Linked DNA regions of Homo sapiens: region 1 is linked to region 2. The links are contacts of gene promoters, found by promoter capture Hi-C in human tissues and cell types (Jung and others, 2019). All regions are on one chromosome and are shown on one strand. Each heading gives the region's core, a stretch centred on a gene start or on the middle of the fragment in contact. The rest is flanking DNA. Distances are from core to core; before and after follow the strand shown.

The links. The method cuts DNA at HindIII sites, captures the fragments that hold promoters and counts their contacts. A contact is called where the count stands out against the background at its distance.
Region 1: the fragment with the promoter of CAMKV here is called in contact with a fragment that was not itself captured in region 2 in 1 of the 25 tissues and cell types used here (mesenchymal stem cells).

The regions. Positions count from the first base shown.
Region 1 is chr3:49,865,855-49,872,625 of GRCh38, reverse strand. It overlaps CAMKV (CaM kinase like vesicle associated), which reads left to right and starts at 2,720. Exons shown (of 11, transcript NM_024046.5): 1 at 2,720-2,868. RefSeq lists enhancers at 3,036-3,967, 3,968-4,900. The HindIII fragment of the contact is 8,966 bases long and covers 1-4,241 here.
Region 2 is chr3:49,737,264-49,743,385 of GRCh38, reverse strand. It overlaps IP6K1 (inositol hexakisphosphate kinase 1), which reads left to right. Exons shown (of 6, transcript NM_153273.4): 3 at 4,964-5,174. Among named protein-coding and RNA genes, the nearest start is that of GMPPB, 16 kb to the right of the region's middle. The HindIII fragment of the contact is 4,614 bases long and covers 1-4,148 here.

The sequences.
Region 1 (6,771 bases), core at 1,471-3,970, 130 kb before region 2:
TCCTGGATCCTGGGTAGGAGGCCCAACCTGAGCTGGGGGATGAAGCTCTGTGGATACTGCGGCTCGCACCTTATTCTGCCCCTCTGACTTTCTAGCTTTGGTGGGAGCCAGAACTACGAACTTGGGCCCTCTTCTCCTCCTCAGCCTCCCAACCCAGGCAGCCCCTGTCTTCAGGGTACAGGCCTCCTTAGGAGGGTCCTCATAAAGGCTACTAGGCAATGCTAATCTGGATTGCCTCTGCTCTTGTTCCAAACTCTGGTCTGTGCTAAAGGGCCTCCTGCCATCACTCTGGCCAGTGGAGTGGTGAGAAATCATGTCCCCTGACCCCGTCTGGCTTTGAATAGTGGAAGTAAGAACAAAGCTCAGCATTGGTCCCGTCCCTGCCCTGGAAGAGCTAAGAGGATGGCATTCAGCTGATGTTACTATCTCCTGCCTGAAAGGCAGCTGGAGGTTGAAGCCAAAACATTGAAGCCGGTCCTACCCTGCCTGTGCCTTCCTGTCTAGGGGCTGAGGGATAAGCCATGGCTCAATCCTAGCCCTGGGTTCTTGTCTTCAGATTGCCCTCCACAAATGGCAAAGACTTGTCTATCTTCACATACACCAGAGATCAAGGGGCTGCTCTGGTGGGGAGCCTGAAAACAGCCAATGATGTAGGGTCAGCACAGACCCTGCCCACTGCTGGACATGGTCCAGCCCCCTTCCCATGTCCAGCTCTCAAAGCCTGATTCAGCCTCCACAATCCTGAGACTTGTGTCAGGCAGGAAGGGGACTGATAACTCCAGGGACCAGCTACAGCGTCCACACACACGTGCCAGCAAGCATGCCTGGGTGCACAAAGAATGCAGACACACGTGCCCCTGGGCACCACTGCATACACTGTGCTGTTGCATCTCCCTCGGCAAAAGAGAGCATACACAACACGTACACGTGTGCACACACACCCTGCCACGTGCTCTCACCCACATGCACAGAGCGTGCTTAGGACCAAGAAGAGGTGGAGTACTGCCAGCAGCAGGCAGGGCGCTAAGGAGCCACCCCTTCCCCTGCCTAAAAATCCCCATTCCAGCTTCTCATTGACCCCCATGCCTGGATAGCCATGACCCTCAGGAAAGACAGAAAACATGTATGTGGCATGTGTGGGGTCAGCAAGCTACAGCTTGGCTACACCATAAAACTCAGAGACCCATTGTTTCAAGAATAGTGGGCAGATGGCAGGAAGGACTCAGTGCCAGGCCATTCATTCATTCTGCAGACATCAGCCGAGCATACTGAGATGAGAAACGGGTTCTGCCTTGCAGATACCCAGCCTGCCAGGAGATTCCTACCCAGTGGTGGGGTGGGTCCCATAACCCGAGACCACTCAGAGCCCAGGGACCCCAGAAGTGGCACCAGCCTGGCCTAGAGGAGGTAACACCAAGCCAGGGAGGAAGGTGAAGGGCTCAGTACCCCCTCTGGAGGAAAATTTTGAGGAACCTTGTTTGAGGCGGTCATTTCCTAAGCTAGCCTTCAGTCTGAGCCCCAGCCCCAGCTTCTGGACTTGGACAGTCCCTCCTGTCATCAGCCATGGGTGGCCAGGGCAGCCTCAAGATGGCTGAGGGTTTGGGGATGACCCCAACTCCCTCTCCCACAGCAGGGTCAGGAGGCTCACTGGGAGGAGTGAGGTGGGATAAAACCCAGCTCCAGACACTGAGAGGCCTGAGTCTGGTCTTCAGATACTGGCCTTAGGATGGTCCTCAGGGCTTGTGAGGGGTGTGGGTCAGGCTTTGGGTCCGTGAGCCTCACTGACAAGGGACAGAGAAATGGCCAAGGACTTCCTTTAAAGCTTCCTCCTGGTGGTTCTGAGCCTCCTCCCTCTGATTAGCACCCAGGCCAGGTGGGATACCTTGGTGCCACAGTTCTCCTGTGTCCCCATATCCCAGGCCAGGCCACTAGAGTGATACAACTCATGAAGTGTTTGACAGTGATTAGACTGAAAAGAAAGCAGAGGCCACACCATGTCACAGGTGACTTTTATAGTTTGGGAAATTTGGTGCCACACAGGAAGGGGCTGACTGTGCTGCCACCCTTGCTGGTACTTATGTTTGGGAAAGACTCTGGCCTTGCAGGAGTTGGGGATGGGGTGGGATAGGAGACTTTGCTACTACAGTCTAGGGCCCTCACTGTTTTCACACTGACTACCTGCAAACACACACCTCTGTGTGTTTACTGCTCCTAGCTAGGGGATGCGTAGCTAGGGGATGCTAGGGGATGCCACACTGACTACCTGCAAACACACACCTCTGTGTGTTTACTGCTCCTAGCTAGGGGAGCCTGCCCTAGCCCGACTGCCCATCTGGTTTTTCTAAGTTGGTCCTGCCTTTTGGGTCGGGTTCGGGGAGCTGGGCAAAGCCCCGTTCCCTAGAGACTAATGACTGGCAAGCGATCCTATGCAGCTCCAGGACTCAGGCTTTCCCCCAACTCTCCACTCACCACCCCTTACATTGGGCATAGGAGGCCTCCTCCGGCCCCAGGCTGAGGGCCTAAGGGAGCCATTGAGAACCTTGGCCAGGGCTAAGCAGGCCAGTGCTCACCAGCACCGCTGCCATCCCGCGCGCTCCTGCTCTCCAGTGGGATTCTGCCCTTAAGGCTCCGCCAGGGTCGGGGCGGGGCCGGTTGGGAGGCCCCGCCCCCAGCCCGCCCCCGGCCCGGGGTGCGAATCCGGTGCCGGCAAGCGGCTGGCGATGCTGGAGGTTCGCTAGCCGAAGCGGCTGCATCTGGCGCCGCGTCTGCCCCGCGTGCTCGGAGCGGATTCTGCCCGCCGTCCCCGGAGCCCTCGGCGCCCCGCTGAGCCCGCGATCACTTCCTCCCTGTGACCAACCGGCGCTGCAGGTGCGGGGCGGGCCGGGCTGGGGGCGCTTCCCGAACGCAGGTTGTGGGGCCTTGGGGGATTGTTTCCCTGGCTCGAGGTGCGGGATGCAGAGTGCGCGGGGGCGCAGCGAGGGCTCGAGGTCCTGGCGGGGTCAGAGCGCGCGGGCTTTGCAGATTTGGGGGAGGGAGTGCGGGGTCGGGCTAAAGTTCCCCATTACCTCGGACGGCTTGGGGGTTCTGGGGGGAAGCTTCTGCGGCTCGGAATTGTGAAAAGATTAACCCTCGAAGATTCGTGGTCCCCCGTGAGGATAGGGGCCGAGAGCTGAGCCGTCCCTCCCCGTTCCCAGAGCCGCCTCCAGCCCCTCCCAACTGTCCCCGGGCCCCTTCCCTCCCGCTTAGCAGTCACTAATTTCCATGACAACGGAGAGTTCTTTATGGGCGACAACCCGGAGGGGGCTGGGCGGGGCTGCCGCGGGGTGGGGGAGGAAGCTCCAAGCCCCTGGGGACCAGCAGCCCCCCAGCCAAAATTCAGCTTCCAAGCCTTCACCTGGGTGCCAGCTGGGGGTCCAGTGCATGGACCCACGTGCACGGTGGGGGTGGGGGCGCACATGTTCCTGCTGGGAGGTGCGGGGCTTGGTGCTCACACGTGTGCTTTCCGCATGTGTGTTGCTGTGCCAGCGGGGGCGAGCCAGCAGCACTTGGGAAAGGGGTCAGGGTGGCAGCACGGTGGGGAGCAGGGCCCCTGGCTGGAGGTGGCTGGGATAGTGACAGCATGAGCTTCTGCCTTCCCCAGCTTGTACTGTTTGGCAGAGACCCTGGGCTCTTGAGCCCCAGCCCCCTCCCCGCATAGCTCTGCCAAATTGCTTTTGTCCGCACCTCCCAGGCAGATCCTGCTCCACCAGGTTCCTTCCTAAGGATCAGGGCCCTCTGTCCCACACTAAAAGCTCAGAGTCTGCAGTAGTCCAGTCCCTGTGCTGTACTCCCCTTACCCCCAAGTCCAGGCTTTGAGCCCCCAGGACTACCTTTAGAGACCTGGTGCCCTCCCCCACCCTCAGAGTTGATTCCTGGCAGCTCCAGCGACTTCTGAGCCTCAGTTTCCTCAACTGGGGAACTGGTGTCTCCACTCAGAGTCAGGTTGGTTTCCAGGGTGGGGCAAGGGTCTCCCTTTTCTAATATTTGGTGTGGACCCTTCAGGTGCTCTCCTAGGCTGGCTGTTCACATATCTCTGATGGCCCTACTCTCCAGCCCCATGCCCTGGCCACCATTCACAGGCAGGCAAGCAGTCCTCTGCCCTGGGAGAAGGCCAGATTCCATGGTTTCCATTAGGGGAAACTGAGGCATGGGGAGGTGAAGGGCTGTGTGGTTATCCTGTTTCTGGGTTGCTTGTGGTGCCGTTTCTGGCACTCATGGCAGGATCTGCTGTTGGGGGTTGGTGAGAGGGGATTAAGCAGAGCTGTAAGAGGGGCTCTGGGGACCCAAAGCCTGGAAAGGATAGCAGATGGGGGAGGGGTTGGCTGGGAGGGTCTAAGTACAGCTGGGCCAACTGAGAAGAGGGACTATAAAGGGAAGCAGCCAGGCATCCGAGCCTCATTTCCATACCCCTATGCGTCTGCCTTCAACATGTTGGACCTGCTTTACCTAAGCTGCCGTGATGGCAGAGAGACGGGCTGGGAACTGTCCTGACTGGGGGGCTGCAGCAGCTGGCCTCTTCCCCACCAACATGCTCCAAGGAGCTGGCCTCCTTTTGGCTGTGCCTCCTACACCAAGTTCAGTGTATGTTTGGGGGATACAGGAGGGTGCAGTCTCGAAGGTCCCAGTACCATGGATAGCTCCTGGCCCAGGGATTTAGAGCACATCGCCATGGAGGCCTTAGGGCTCTGCTGGGCACCCATCCGCCCCCTTCAGAACTCCCGTCCACCTCCCCTTTCCTGCCCTTTGTGCCTGTGTCCCTTTTACTTTGTCATCTCCTTGCTCCTCTTCCATCACAGGTTCTGTCTTTGTCTGTGTCTCTGCCCCATTCTCTTTTTTCTAAATTCTCTCCATCTCCCCACCTCCCCTTTCTTGATGGGGACCTGGGTCACAGAACCTTGAAGAAGCAGCCAGGCTAAGGTCTCAGGAAATTCTTGAAGAAGGGACCTGACCAACACATCTCCCCTCCCCCTCCCCTTGTTTTAAAACTTCCATCACCATAGCAACCCTTTACTCTAGTGCCTTCCTCTGCATTTCCCCTCCTCCACCCACAGGGAAGCAGAGCCTCCAGTGGATTCTCCTTCAGGGGTTCAGAGATTTGGACCCCAAGTGCTTGGGAGGAGACAGCTGGCCTTTGGCTTTGCCTGCATGTTGACAGCTAAACTTTCGGGATGTAGCACTGGACTGCATGCCCACCCCCAAAACTGGAGAGACCTCCCCACAATACTCCCTCATTAGATGGGCAAAATTCAGCTGTAGGAACTTCTACCATGATTTAGCTCGAGCCGGAGGCTCAGTCAGGGCAGCCCCTTGACCGGTCCCCTGAAGCAATTGGATGGTGGTCTAGAAGCTTGGCCCTTGTTCTTAACAGACCTTGAGGGAGGTCTTCAGCTCCCCTGGTCCTGTGGGTGACACCTCAGCTGTGAGTTAAGCAGGGCTTGGGCTTCAGCATGTTCATTGCAGCAGGAAACCCAGCCCCAGCCCTTGAGAGAGTAGAGCAGCAGAGAGGAGGGGGTGCCTGCAGGCTGGTGTTCACAGCTGCCACTAAATTAGGAGGTGTTGCCTACAGTTGTTGGGAGGCAGCTGGAGGCCTCTTGGGCCCCTCCTGGCCTCCCTAGATTTACTGCAAGCTCTGGAGCCCCACGTGGCAGGGGACCAAGGTAGCAGGAAACTCTGTTTATGTCTATGAAAGGTAGGGCCTGAACCAGGATGATCTCAGCGGAGGAGGGGACAGGACCCCAATGTGGGGCCTCCGGACCTCTTGGCCTTTGTCCCGTTTGGGCTTTCCCTGGGCCAGACTTACCTAAAGATGCAGCAGAGTCCCTGGGGGACCATTTATCACCAGGGCACCAACAGAGGACCCCTCAGGATTGCTGGAGGCTCAATTCCCTGAGTCCAGTGGTCAGGCCCTGGGAGCAGGCCATAACTGGGGAGTGCTTGGCTCTCAGGCTCCATGAGAGCCAGCTGGAGGGCAATGGCCGCACCAGGGCCTGCACTCCCCACAAGCTCCCTCTGGGCAGCCGGTAGTGCATACTGTTCAGTTCCTCTGCAGAGAGTGGAGGGAGCCATGTCTCCAGGGAAATGGCTGTTGTGGAGCTCCCATGCCCTTCCATGGCCTAAGTGTACCTGAGGAAGAGCTCAGATCCTGTGTTGCTGAGAGGAGAGCTCTCCATTGTTGGGTGTTGGGTCTGGGCCATGGGGGTGAAAAATACAAACCCCTTCCACTTGGCCTCCTCTCTTTCTGAGAGCTGTCCCTTGGCTGTTCCTCCCAGGTCTCCTTTGTTGCAAGCAGGTGCCCAGGGCTTGGTGCACACACCCGAAACCTCCCAGGGAGCAACAGTGGATAGCAGATGGTGGAGTGGGTGTGGGCAGAGGGAACCAAGGTGCTAATTGAAAGCCAGGCCCCTCTTTCTCCTCTCTTTGCCCTGGGGCCAAGTCCAGGGCCCCAAGCCAGTATACTTAGACTGGTGAGGAGGAGGAGGAGGAGGAGTGACTGGCTGAAATTTGGGCAGCCATAGTAGGGGGCAGGGGAGACAGATCTGTTCCCATCTCAGCCTTGAGGCTTCAGGACATGGCTCCAGGCTGACATTACGGGGTGGAGGCCCAGTTTTCTGTGCCTTTCATGGGACAGACCCCCATGACCAGCCCTGGACCTCAGTGGGCACGAATGCATATGCAGAGCCGAAAGCTGGGGCCAGGATCAAGGACAGGCATGCACAAAACCTCCCACCCACG
Region 2 (6,122 bases), core at 592-3,091:
TGAACTCCTGGTCTCAAGTGATCCTCCTCCATGAGGCATGATACCTCAGCCTCCCAAGTAGCTGGGATCACAGGTGTGAGCCACTGCTCCCAGCTGAAAGGTAAGTGTGTGTGTGTGTGTGTGTGTGTGTGTGTGTGTGTGTGTATTTTGTTTTTGTTTTTGTTTTGAGATAGGGTCTTGCTTCATTGCCTAGGCTAGAGTGCAGTGGTATGAACTTGGCTCACTGCAACCTCTACCTCCTGGGTTCAAGGACCTCAGCCTCCTGAGTAGCTGGGACTTACAGGTGCCTGCCACCATTCCTGGCTAATTTTTGTATTTTTAGTAGAGATGGGGTTTCACCATGTTGGTCAGGTTGGTCTCGAACTCCTGACCTTAAGTGACCCACTTGCCTTGGCCTCCCAAAGTGCCTGGATACAGGTATGAGCCACCGTGGCTGGACTGTGTGTTTTTTTAATATAAAATTTTAGTCCAATTTATTTATTTATATACTATTTTGAGACAGGGTCTCACTCTGTTGCCCAGACTGGAATGCAGTGGCACGATCTCAACTCACCACAGCCTTGACCTCCTGGGCTCAAGTGATTCTCCCACCTCAGCCTCTGGAGTAGCTGGGACCACAGGTGTGCACCGGCTCTTTTTTTTTGTATTTTGTAGAGACAGGGTCTCACCATGTTGCCCAGGCGGGTCTCAAACTTCTAAGCTTAAGTGATCTGCCTGCCTTGGCCTCCCAATGTGCTGGGATTACAGATGTGAGCCACCATGCCTGGCCCTGAAATAGATTAATTTGACTAATAATATCTTCCACTATGCTTCTATTTTTTTTTCTTTTTCTTTTTTGAGATGGAGTCTCACTCTGTTGCCCAGGCTGGAGTGCAGTGGCGCGATCTTGGCTCACTGCAAGCTCTGCCTCCCGGGCTCACGCCATTCTCCTGCCTCAGCCTCCCGAGTAGTTGGGACTACAGGCGTGTACCACCACGCCCGGCTAATTTTTTGTATTTTTAGTAGAGACAGGGTTTCACCGTGTTAGCCAGGATGGTCTCAATCTCCTGACCTCGTGATCCGCCCCCCTCAGCCTCCCAAAGTGCTGGGATTACAGGCGTAAGCCACCGTGCCCAGCCTATGCTTCTATTTTCTTTGACTAAATTGGGCTTCATTTGACTTAGAAAGAAGGGATTAATTTTAGTTTAATTGAATTGTACTTTTGAGCTAGCATATTTATTCTTTCCTAGTGAAAATGTAGCCTAAGCAAAGAAAATAAAGTAGATCCTAAGAATTTACTGTGGCTTTTATTTTTTTATTTTTATTTTGAGACAGGGTCTTGCTGTGTCGCCCAGGCTGGAGTGCAGTGGTACAGTCATGGCTCACTGCAGACTCAAACTCCTGACCTCAAGCAATCCTCTCATATTATGGCCTTTAAAGATACCTGTTACTCAGTTTGAGAGGAGGAAGGTGTGAGGAAATACTGAACCAGTGCTAGAGACTGCCAACCCTTCCCTGGGAGGCACCTTGAAGTTCTAAATTGTCTTGTCCCAGTTCTGATGGTTGTAATTTAGAGAACACCTATCTGGAAGCAGGGCTCATTTACCTTTTAAGGGATTTTTTCCTTAGCATCAGAAGGACTCCATGAGCTGACAGGGCCTATAGTTTTATTTCTGGCTTTGGCATATTTATGGCAGAATGTTTGGCCTTCAGTGTTTTGAATGTGGATGGATAGGTGGCTGAAGCTACATTTATAAAGTGTTTGGGACTGTTAAAGTTTCCTAGCCACTTGGAGAAAGCAGTGTGTTTATTTCTGGCTTTGTTCTTATTTAGCAGCCTTAGAATATTTATTTTTCCAAATTTAGTATTCTTCTGATTATGTTTTGAAAGCAATAAAAATCACCCAGTTTCAAAACTGCACAAAGGGCTTGAATAGAGATTTTTCCAGAGAGGACATACAGATGGCCAGTAGCACATCAACATGATTAGTCATTAAGAAATGCAAATCAAAACCAAAATAAGATACCACTTCATACCAGGTATCTTATTTTACCTAGTATGGCTATAATAGTTTAAAGAAAAAAGGGAAATAACTGTTGGCAAGGATGTGGAGAAATGGGAACATTGCTGATGAAAATGTAAAGTGGTGTAGCCACTGTGGAAAAGAGTTTGGCAGTTCCTCCCAAAGGTGAACACAGAAACCATATGATCCAGCAATTCCACTCCTACATATATATCCAAAACAATTGAAAACAGGGACTGTGGCCAGGTGCAGTGGCTCATGCCTGTAATCCTAGTACTTTGGGAGGCGGGCAGATCACCTGAGGTCAGTAGTTCAAGACCAGCCTGGCTAACATGGCAAAACCCTGTCTCTGCTAAAAAATACAAAAAGTAGCCGAGCGTGGTGGCAGGCACCTGTAATCCCCGCTCCTCAGGAGGCTGAGGCAGGAGAATCACCTCGGGAGGCGGAGATTGCAGTGAGCTGAGGTTGCACCACTGCACTCCAGCCTGGGCGACAGAGCAAGATTCCATCTCAAAAAAAAAAAAAAAGAAAAAAGAAAAAACAGGGATTCAAATGGATTGTTGTAAGCCAGTGTTCACAACAGCATCATTCATAATAGCTAAAAGGTGGAAACAACCCAAGTGTCCATCAATATAGATAATACATAACAGATGTGATATATACTTACAATGGAATACTATTGAGCCATAAAAAAGAATGAAGTTCTGATATATGCTGTGACACAGATGAACCTTGCAAACACTATGCTAAGTGAACTAAGCCAGACACAAAAGAACAAACATTGTATGATTTCACTTATATGAAATATGCATAATAGGCAAATCTGTAGAGATAGAAAGTAGATTTGGTTACTGGGGCTAGGAGGAAGGGAAAATGGGGAGTTACTGCTTAATGGGTACAGCATTTTTGTTTCAGGTGATGAAAAACATTTTGGAAATAGATAATGGTGGTGGTTATTCAGTATTGTCAATGTACTTAATGCCCACTGAATTGTACCTTTAAAAATGATTAAATGGCTGGGCATGGTGGCTCACACCAGTAATCCTAGCACTTTGGGAAGCGAAGGCAAGAGGATTGTTTGAGGCCCGGAGTTCCAGACCAGACTGGGCAACATAGCAAGCCTTGTCGCTACCAAAAAAAAAAAAAAAAAAAAAAGAATTGCAAATTTTATGTTTCTATCGATCGATCTATTGACTGAACACCACAACTTATTTTTATTTTTATATTTTATAGAGACAGGGTCTTGCTGTGTTGCTCAGGCTGGTCTTGAACTCCTGTGTTCAAGCAGTCCTGCCTTGGCCTCCCAAAGAGCTGGAATTACAGTGTGAGCCACTGAACCTGGCCCAAACACCACAATTTTATTTTATTTTTATTTTATTTTTTTGAGATGGAGTGTTGCTCTGTTGCCCAGGCTGATCTTGGCTCACTGCAACCTCCGTCTCCCGGCTTCAAGTGATTCTCCTGCCTCAGCCTCCTGAGTAGCTGGGATTATAGGCACGCACCACCATGTCTGGATAACTGTTGTATTTTTAGTAGAGATGGGGTTTCGACATGTTGGCCAGGCTGGTGTGGAACTCCTGATCTCAGGTGAGGTCCCAGCTACTTGAGAGGCTGAGGCAGGAGGATCACTTGAGTCCAGGAGTTCGAGGTTGTAGTGAGCTATGATGGCACCACTGCACTCCAATGGGACCCTGTCTCTTAAGAAGAAGAAGAATATTATAAAGAACTTTAGGCCGGGCCTGGTGGCTCACGCCTGTAATCCCAGCACTTTGGGAGGCCGAGACGGGTGGATCACGAGGTCAGGAGATGAGACCATCCTGGCTAACATGGTGAAACCCCGTCTCTACTAAAAATACAAAAAAATTAGCCAGGCATGGTGGCGGGTGCCTGTAGTCCCAGCTACTCAGGAGGCTGAGGCAAGAGAATCGCTTGAACCTGGGAGGCGGAGCTTGCAGTGAGCCGAGATCACGCCACTGCACTCCAGCCTGGGCGACAGAGCGAGACTCTGTCTCAAAAAAAAAAAAAAAAGAACTTTAAGCCAATAATTATTCTACAACATAAAAGAAATTGACAAAACATAGGGAGATCCTGTCTCTACAAAAAATAAACCATAAATGCTTCTCACTGATTTTCAGATTATAGAGCCAACTGTGTACATCTGAGAGTATAAAAGCAGAAATGTAGCTGACAGACAAAAGGTGGGATGTGGAAGTGAGACCAAGTTACTTTTTTTTCCCTTCAAAACCTCCTCCTCAAGTTTCTGGATATATGTATTTTTAAATTGTATTAAGAACACTTGAGAGGGGTCTTATTTGTGTTTTAACTCACTAAGATCCAGAAGACACTACAAACAACCCATTTGATTAAAATGGGCACAAAAAACTATTACGGATACAGCACGGCAAACAGAAGGATGTTTTATCTTCGAGATGCCAGGGGTGGAAGTTCTGTGTAGTGAGGCTGGGATAGCCTGATGCTCAGTGTGGGCAGAACACAGATTTTTTTGGACCGTCTTGGAGGGAGAAGTGTTGATGTCCCTTTGGCTGACACTGTCAGGCAGAAGGAAACTAGATCTAAAGGAGGACACACACAGGAAATGGCAGCATAAAGCACTTAAGTAACTAGAGGGTTAAGTGATGCCAGGTGTGGGTGTCACCTAGCGAACACAGTTCTTTTGAATGGTACAAAAAATCAGTAATTGAAAGTGAGAGGGCCAGATAAGAGAAGGGGAAATATAGACTTATCCAGGAACAAAGGTAAGCATCAGATTTAGCTTGGGGATGGACGGTCATCCATTTTCTGGAAGTTACTGTCTGCTGGCTGTTGTTCTGATATTGATCTGTAGTTGGTTCAGGGCAGGTGATGTCTTCATGCTGTGTGGGAAAGTGAGTGCCAACAGTCTGTGCTGCATAGACTCGGCCTGTGTTGACATTTGTTTACCAACTGCCCTTTTTTTAACAGGCGTGGTATCTGTCTGTTTTGAGGGGGACAGTGATGGTTACATCAACTTAGTGGCCTATCCTTATGTGGAAAGTGAGACTGTGGAACAGGATGACACAACAGAACGGGAGCAACCTCGGCGCAAACACTCCCGCCGGAGCCTGCACCGGTCAGGCAGTGGCAGTGACCACAAGGAGGAGAAAGCCAGCCTGTCCCTTGAGACCTCTGAGAGGTAAGAGGTACATGTTTCGTCCTGCTGGTACAAGCACTCAAGACGTCTCCATAGTCCTGACACATCATGGGGAAGCAGGGCTCACAGTCAAGGTTGGATAAGATGACTGGTGTTCTTGGGATACCCACACAGGTGTAGCCTCTTCTCTGTGTCACATCACCCCAGTGGTGCCTCTTTCTGGGTATAGCTGTAGCTGGTTGAGAGAGGAAGTGAAGCTCTCTCAGCCGTTTGGAAGCAGGGACACCCTGTGCTGGTGACAAAAGGTTCTCTGGCTTTTCATTATGTCTTGCCACCCACAGGACAGAAGGTTGAAATACATTAGTTCGTAGCGAGGCTCCAAATGCTTTCTGACCTGCAGGATGTCCAAGCCCAAGGGCTATGAGTCCAACCAGGAGTTCCCTAATGGTTTTTGTGTCAGACCTCTGAGAATCATATCAGTCATTAACGCTTTCCCTGCAACTAAAATTTAGTTTCCGTTGTGTTGGAAATTGATTTTTCTTGTAAGTTCAAATTATGTTTTTTTGTTTGTTTTGAGATGGAGTCTTGCTGTTAGGCTGGAATGCAGTGGTGCCATCTTGCGTCACTGCAACCTCTCCCTCCTGGGTTCAAGCAATTCTCCTGCCTCTGCCTCCCAAGTAGCTGGGATTACAGGCGTGCACCACCACACCCAGCTAATTTTTGTATTTTTAGTGGAGATGTTGTGTCACCATGTTGGCTAGGCTGGTCTCGAACTCCTGACCTCAGGCGATTCGCCTGCCTTGGCTTCCCAAAGTGCTGGGATTATAGGCATGAGCCACTGTACCAGCCTCAAATTATGTGTCTTGATAATTTCATGCAAGAATTAATATGAACTCCCACTAGGATGGGTATAATCAAAAGGACAGACAATAAAAGTGTTGACAAGATGTGAAGAAATGGAACCCTCCTACACTGCTGGTAGGAAGGTAA